2 separate regions of the Homo sapiens genome follow, and region 2 is linked to region 1. Evidence: promoter capture Hi-C in human tissues and cell types (Jung and others, 2019). All regions are on one chromosome and are shown on one strand. Each heading gives the region's core, a stretch centred on a gene start or on the middle of the fragment in contact. The rest is flanking DNA. Distances are from core to core; before and after follow the strand shown. Region 1 holds the start of SH3D21 (SH3 domain containing 21). Region 2 overlaps AGO4 (argonaute RISC component 4).

Region 1 (3,608 bases), core at 602-3,101:
ATTCTTGAAAGAGAAAACAAAAGCATGTGAATAAACTTTGAAGTGTTCACCTCAGTTTGGGACCAAACTGCTTGGATCTTTGTAAAAACCGGTTTTGTATGTCAAGGAGGAGTTTAAGGCCTTTCCGACCACCTTGTGTTCCCCTTTTCTGCGCAGCCATGTATCACGTGGAGTTGCTCCTTACCACACCTCACGTGCCCCTGAGCCCTATTTCCTGATTTCTTCTGGGCTGGACTTCCCCGTTCTCCACCAGCAGCTCCAGTATCCCAAACTTTCTAGTCCTGCTGATCCTCCCAGCAACGGGGTGGAAACTGGAGGGCAGTGTCTGGTCTGTTTTCTAAGAAACTTATGAATTCTATTATCTTTACAAATATGAGAAAATTTTTTCAATATTTTTTATTAATCTTTTTATAAAATGAAAAGAAACTCCTATGATCGATTAAGGAAGGTGGTTATGGCTGGGTGGTTCAGGGGTTTTTTTGGGTTTCTTTTTTTTTTTCTTTGTCTTTTTAACCTTAAGCTGTTTAAGTTGAAGCATTCTCAGATGTTTGGGGGGAAACATCCTCTTAAAATGGGTCCTTGTGCTTGCCTTCTGGGGAGGCGGTCCTGAGCAGGTGAATCATAAGGCATTTATGCATATGTTATATGCGGACTGCACCCACCTCTCCCCCCCAGCCTTTGCCTCTTGCGTTGTTGTGCTGCTTTCCCCTTACTTTGCTACATTTCTATAGTTAAGTTGGTTTTACTTGAATGATTCATGTTTAGGGGGAAAATGAAAATCTCCCTTAAAATTTGTTTCAACTCCTCCTGCAAATAAAATAAATGAAGTGGCAGATGTAAACGGGTTCTGTTCATTGTCATCCTGAGTGTGTGTGTGTGTTGAGGGTGGTAGATAACTTCCCACGGCAGTTTCAGAAAACCTGAAAGACAAAGGGCCTGTGGGGCCTTGCGCAGGCTGCTGGAGTCCCAGACAGACACAGTCCTTCCTGGGAGGAGCATTGTGTACCTTGGACACCCCAGGAGAAACAGATTTTTTCCACTGGTGTCATAGGCAAGGACTTTGGCTTCCTTCATCATGGTGGTGGGGCAGGGATCAAGGGATGTGGTTAGTAGGCTCAGCCTTCTACCTGAAAGAGCCTATCCCACATGGACTGGCCATAGGGTGGGCCCTAACCTTCAGACTCCTGCCGGCTGGGGACTCAACTGTGAGCAGAAATCTTGGAAGCTGGTAAAATTCATTCTCCCGGCCTAACTCCCAGGGAAAACCTGGAGGTGTTTTCTGAAACCAAACTAGACCTCTGGCCCCAAAGCAGGGGTCTTTGCTGTGTCCTTCCTATATGGGGGTAGAGAGTGGGTACGGGGCCAGAGAGGAGTACGCCTTGAAGGAAAGCAGACTGGAAGTGTCCACTCAAAGCTATTGCTGGTACAAGGGCAGCCACTTCATTCACTCAAGGCCGGTTTAGAGCGGTTGCTACTTGCTGGGGGGCCCCACCCTGGTATGTGCCTCTCCCCACCTTTTCCCCTCAAGCCAAAAGCTTGTGAGCTGGGGAAGGGTGGGCCTGGAAAGGCTCTGTGCAAATTGTAGCTGGGAGCCTCCGGGCAAAAGCTGAGGGAAAGGGAGAGGCGGCTGGCCTAAAATTTAGGTGGGCGGAAGAACCTGTGACGGAGCTGTGACCGCTGCACAGGCCAGAGACCCTGGAGTCCTCCTCACCCCGGGGTTGGGGGCCGGACCTGCTGAGCCGGGCCGCCCCCTCTCCACACCCACTCCCAGCACCTGGCCCGACCTATCGGCTGGCGGCTACGCCTCCTTTACCCTACTGTCTTGCCTCAGGTCGCACCCTGCGCGGGCCCAGTACTCGGCCGTCAGAGGGAGCTGCCAGGCTCTGGAGGGCGCCCCGGAAACCATGGGTAAGTGCGGAGGCTTTGAGGTGGCCTCTCTCTGCAACCGTGGACATAGCAAGAGCCCACACCACCCCCCGACCCCCGCTGCCCTCTACGGTGCTTGGGGACACGCCCGCCCTAGCCAGGCTGCCCGGCTGGGCCTTTCTGAGCCGCACGCCGGCCCCGTCTTCCGCCCGCAGAAGTCCTCGTCCTGGCCGGATACCGCGCGCAGAAGGAGGACGAGCTGAGTCTGGCGCCCGGGGACGTGGTCCGGCAGGTGCGCTGGGTGCCCGCGCGGGGCTGGCTTCGCGGAGAGTTTGGGGGCCGCTATGGCCTCTTCCCCGAGCGCCTGGTGCAGGTGAGGCCGAGCCAGGGGCGGGCTGTGGGGTCTCAGCGCGCGCCCCCCGGGAGCTGAGAGCGCCTTCCCCGTGCCCTGATTCCCAGGAGATCCCAGAGACCCTGCGGGGCTCCGGAGAGGCGCGGAGGCCGCGCTGTGCGCGCCGCCGAGGTGAGCGCAAGGGCGGGGACGGGCGCCGGTGGGCGGGTGCACGGAGCCAGTGCGACCCCGGCGTCTCCGGCTCTTAGTGACGGGCGCGGCTCTGGGCGGGACCTCGGGGCCGCCCTGCGGTCTGTGATTGGTTCTCGAGTGCAATGCTCCGCCCTGGGGCGGGGCTGGAGGGACCAAAGGCTACGTGCGCGCCTTGCGCTTCCCCCAGCTCCTCTGACTGGGGCGTCCGACTGGAGCTCAGCCGCGCTTGTCCGGTGCTAGGTCATCCTGCCAAACACCCGAGGCCCCAAAGATGGTGCAAAGTGAACTTCAGCTACAGCCCAGAGCAGGCGGACGAGCTGAAGCTGCAAGCTGGGGAGATCGTGGAAATGATAAAGGAGGTGAGGGGTGAGGTGATGGGACCGTTTGGGGGAGGATGATGGAACGCGCCTCCCTAGTGAGCGGGGTGGGAAGTGAGGGTGTGGACGGTGGGAATGGCGACGGTGCAGATACGGGGAAGCGCGGGAGGGAAGGAGGGAGGAAGGGGCGCTTGGGCAGAACCAAGGGTGGCAGATTATCCTAGGGACTCTTGGGGCAGAACCAGACGCCTCTGCGTCCTCCCCTCTCCCCAGATTGAGGACGGCTGGTGGCTGGGGAAGAAGAACGGGCAGCTGGGAGCCTTCCCATCCAACTTTGTGGAATTGCTGGACAGTGGGCCCCCAAGTGAGACCTCGACTCTGTGACCCTGTGACTCGCAATCTCCAATGACCCTCCCAGTGGCATGAGCCTGTGATTCACATATCCTGACCCTGTGACCCCTCTGACCCTCTCCCATGACCTAACCTGTGAATTAGCACCCTCCCTAACCTCACTGTCCCCCACTAGGCCTTGGTAACCCAGACATGCCTTCAGTCAGCCCTGGTCCCCAGCGGCCTCCCAAGGTAAGTTGGCTCAGAGTAGGCACAGAGGTGGTGAGTTCCTCTTGGGGTGGTTGGAGGCTCATCTAGTTCCTCCCTGCCCCTTCCCCCACTAGCTGAGCAGCCTGGCCTATGACAGCCCTCCAGACTACCTGCAGACAGGTGAGCACCCATCCAAAGGGTCCCCCACTCCCTCAGCCACTCCCAAGGTTGTGACTTGGTGGGCCAGCTAGGCTGATGGAGGTGGGGGCTGCTGATGGATGGGGGAGGCTTGGCTTCAGAGGACAGTGGACTGACCTCTTCCCAGTCTCCCACCCTGAGGT
Region 2 (3,381 bases), core at 825-3,324, 450 kb before region 1:
CCTAGCACTTTGGGAGGCCAAGGTGGGAGAATTGCTTGAGCCCAGGAGTTTGAGTCCAGCCTGGGCAACAAAATTAGACCCCGTGTCTCAAAAAAAAAAAAAAAAAAAAGCCAGACATGATGGCATGTGTGCCTATAGCCCCCGCTACTCAGGAGGCTGAGGTGAAAGGATTCCTTGAGTCCAGGAGTCCAAGGTTGCAGTGAGCTGTGATCCTCCCAGTGCACTCCAGCCTGGGTGACAGAGTGAGACGCTGTCTCAAAAAAAAAAAAAAAAAAAGTACTAGTTATGTTGAACCTGGTAAACCAGTTTAAAGATTCCTTAATCTTTTACTGAAAATTGTGAATTTTTTTTACTCCAAGTAAGGAATAAAACTTTTTTTCTCAGAAAGTTTATCTATCTTAAATGTTAAATGTTTTTTCCCTTTGTGAACATACCACTGTGTCATCTGTAAATACATAATAATGTTGTAGCCCAAAGCCACGGGTAAAATATTTTTGTCCGTATCCTCCTGAAGAGATCCTGGAACATATTTGTTTGTGAAAATACTATAGGTTAAAATGGTTGGGCTAAGGGAAAGTTACAGAGGATTCAACATCTTGAATGAAAGTGATTTTCAAGACTTAAGAGACATTTACCAACTTGCTCCCAATTAACACACAAAAGAAAAAAATGGCCTGACCACAGTTTGGCACTTTGATGACTAATTACTTTTTTTTGTTTTTTGTAGGTAGGGAAAAGTGGCAATGTACCAGCAGGCACTACAGTGGATAGTACCATCACACATCCATCTGAGTTTGACTTTTACCTCTGTAGTCATGCAGGAATTCAGGTAATTTGGAAGCTGGTTCAGATCTTTGACTTGATAGGGAGATGTTTGCAAATTCAGCAACTAGCTTGAGTCGACTTGTTATTTAACACCGTGCCTAACTTTGTTAATGCTTGTATCCTAGAATTATCTTTTGGTCTAGGTATCTGCTTGTAGGTGTGCTAGGCAGAAGTATTTCTGAGTTTAAGGAGTAGGTTTCAATTATTTTCTCTTCTCGTGTCATGTCAGAAATATATTAATCAGGCCAGGCATGGTGGCTCACGCTTGTAATCCAATCACTTTGGGAGGCCGAAATGGGCAGATCACCTGAGGTCAGGAGTTTGAGACCAGCCTGACCAATGTGGTGAAACCCCATCTCTACTAAAAAAAACAAAAATTATCTGGGCATGGTGGCGTGCACCTATAGTCCCAGCTACTTGGGAGGCCGAGGCAGGAGAATTGTTTGAAGTCCAGAGGCGGGGGTTTCTGTGAACCAAGATCGTACCACTGCACTCCAGCCTAGGTGACAGAGTGAGACTCCATCTCAAAAAAAAAAAAAAAAAAACAAAAACAAAAAACGAACAAAAAAAAAACATTAATCATAAAACTCTCTCCTCAGGGAACCAGCCGTCCCTCACATTACCAGGTCTTGTGGGATGACAACTGCTTCACTGCAGATGAACTCCAGCTACTGACTTACCAGCTGTGTCACACCTATGTGAGGTGCACTCGCTCAGTCTCTATTCCAGCCCCTGCATATTATGCCCGGCTTGTAGCATTTAGGGCAAGGTATCATCTGGTGGATAAAGATCATGACAGGCAAGTTTCTTAGGCACAATAAAGTCTCTTTATATTTTAGTAGCATGTTAAAAAAAATGAGCTACAATAGAAAACTTTTTTAAGGATTTAAACTTTCAGAGTTTAAATTGTAAGAAGCAAATAAAATTGCATGTGCCTCTGAGAGCTTGTAATGTGACTTTTGGTCCAAGAAGTGCTCAGGCTTGTTTATACTTGTGTTGTGTCTCTAAAGGAGTTTAATTTGGAGCTGCTTGTGGTTCTCCCATGGAGCCAAATGCATTTCAGTTCTGCTCAGGTCCTAAGTAGCCTCAAAAAGTGGTCAACACAGTACCCTGGCTCCGGTCAAAGTAGTCACAGGGCTGTGGATTCCACTTCATGCAAGTGAGGAGGCCTGACCAGTTCACTTTGCTTTTGGTACATTCTGGAAAAATACCCCAGAGTGAACCTGGATGTGTGTGTGGGAGTGGGGGCACAGATGATTCTCACTCTCAAATAGGCATCTCAGGAGAATCAGAGAATCTGTTATTTTGACCTATTCCTGAGCTACTATTAAATAGTTACACAAGCTCTCTGCATTAATTTTCTTTTCCAAATGACCATCTGTGAAGTGTAGCAGTTTCTGGGCTCTTCCCCAAGTCTGAATTCAGCTGCTAAATAGTAGACATTCCACTGCAAGTCTATTTCTGTAAGGGTTGAAAATACACTATTATGGAAAATGTCCAACTGTGGCTTTGTACCTTCCATTCCGTAATGTGCTTTCATTTATTCGGCATATTTATTAGGTATTGACTGTGTGCCTAGTACTGTGCTAGGTGCTAGAATTACTAAGATGAGTAAGACATGTTTCTTGTCCACGGGGATTTTATGTTTCAGTATGGGAGACAATACAGGCAAATATACAACTGACAAGTAGCCCAAGTCAGTACAGATAAAAGTGCAATGGGACACCAGAGGAGAGGCTTTTAGAGAAGATTTCATAGCTGGATGGATAGAATGGCTCTACAAAAAAGAGAAAAGAATTTTCAGGGCAGAGAGAACAAGGGACACAAAGGGGAAAAAGCAAGTGGCATGTTTGTACAGTAGCAAATTTTCTTTGGCTGGAGGATATTAAAGGGGAACAAGCAGGTATGAGGCTGGAAAAATATGTTAAAGCAAGACCGTGTTTGTTAAATGTAAAATGCTGTTCCTAGGATAGAATAGACAGGACTTAACAGTTAATTGGATATGCATGTCAGAGGAGAGGGTGAAGTAAAAGATGGCTAAGATTTTGAGCCTAGATGATAAGGATAATAATCACTTAAAGAGAAAGTCAGAAGAGGGATGGGGATTTACAGCTTGTCAAGCCCTTTATATCACATGGTATCCTTAAGTAGTATGTTTAGAAGTTGTTGTTGTTACTCCGAAAGACCAAAGTTCAGAGGAGTTATTATGTGTCCAAGGTTATATAGTTAGTGAAGGGAAGACAAGAAGAGACTGGTGGCACAATAGCATTTGCTGGGAATTTCCTATGTTCCATCACTATGCTAGGTACGTAGATGCATTCATTCAACTAATGGTTTATTGAGACTTTGTTGTATTATGTGCTAGACACCAAGGATACAGTGGTGAGCAAGGTGGACAAAATTGCTGCTTTCTTGGAGTTTATATCCCAGTGGGAAAATAAATAATTACCCAAGTAATAATTTAATTTCAATTGTGTTTAGTACCATGAAAGAAAAATATAGGATTCTGTTAAAGCATGTTCCAGGTGGCTCTGACCTGGACCTTAAAGTCAAAGA

The links. The method cuts DNA at HindIII sites, captures the fragments that hold promoters and counts their contacts. A contact is called where the count stands out against the background at its distance.
Region 2: a contact is called between a fragment that was not itself captured here and the fragment with the promoter of SH3D21 in region 1, in 1 of the 25 tissues and cell types used here (psoas muscle).

The regions. Positions count from the first base shown.
Region 1 is chr1:36,304,517-36,308,124 of GRCh38, forward strand. SH3D21 (SH3 domain containing 21) reads left to right here and starts at 1,852. Exons shown (of 16, transcript NM_001162530.2): 1 at 1,852-1,908; 2 at 2,082-2,239; 3 at 2,326-2,389; 4 at 2,651-2,769; 5 at 3,001-3,091; 6 at 3,254-3,309; 7 at 3,402-3,447; 8 at 3,593-3,608. The coding sequence starts at 1,905. It overlaps THRAP3 (thyroid hormone receptor associated protein 3), which reads left to right. Exons shown (of 12, transcript NM_005119.4): 12 at 1-841. RefSeq lists silencers at 1,893-1,942, 2,163-2,602 and enhancers at 2,100-2,900, 2,703-2,752. The HindIII fragment of the contact is 33,466 bases long and covers 209-3,608 here.
Region 2 is chr1:35,849,430-35,852,810 of GRCh38, forward strand. AGO4 (argonaute RISC component 4) reads left to right here. Exons shown (of 18, transcript NM_017629.4): 16 at 728-829; 17 at 1,425-1,624. Among named protein-coding and RNA genes, the nearest start is that of AGO1, 32 kb to the right of the region's middle. RefSeq lists a silencer at 1-140. The HindIII fragment of the contact is 6,144 bases long and covers 1-3,381 here.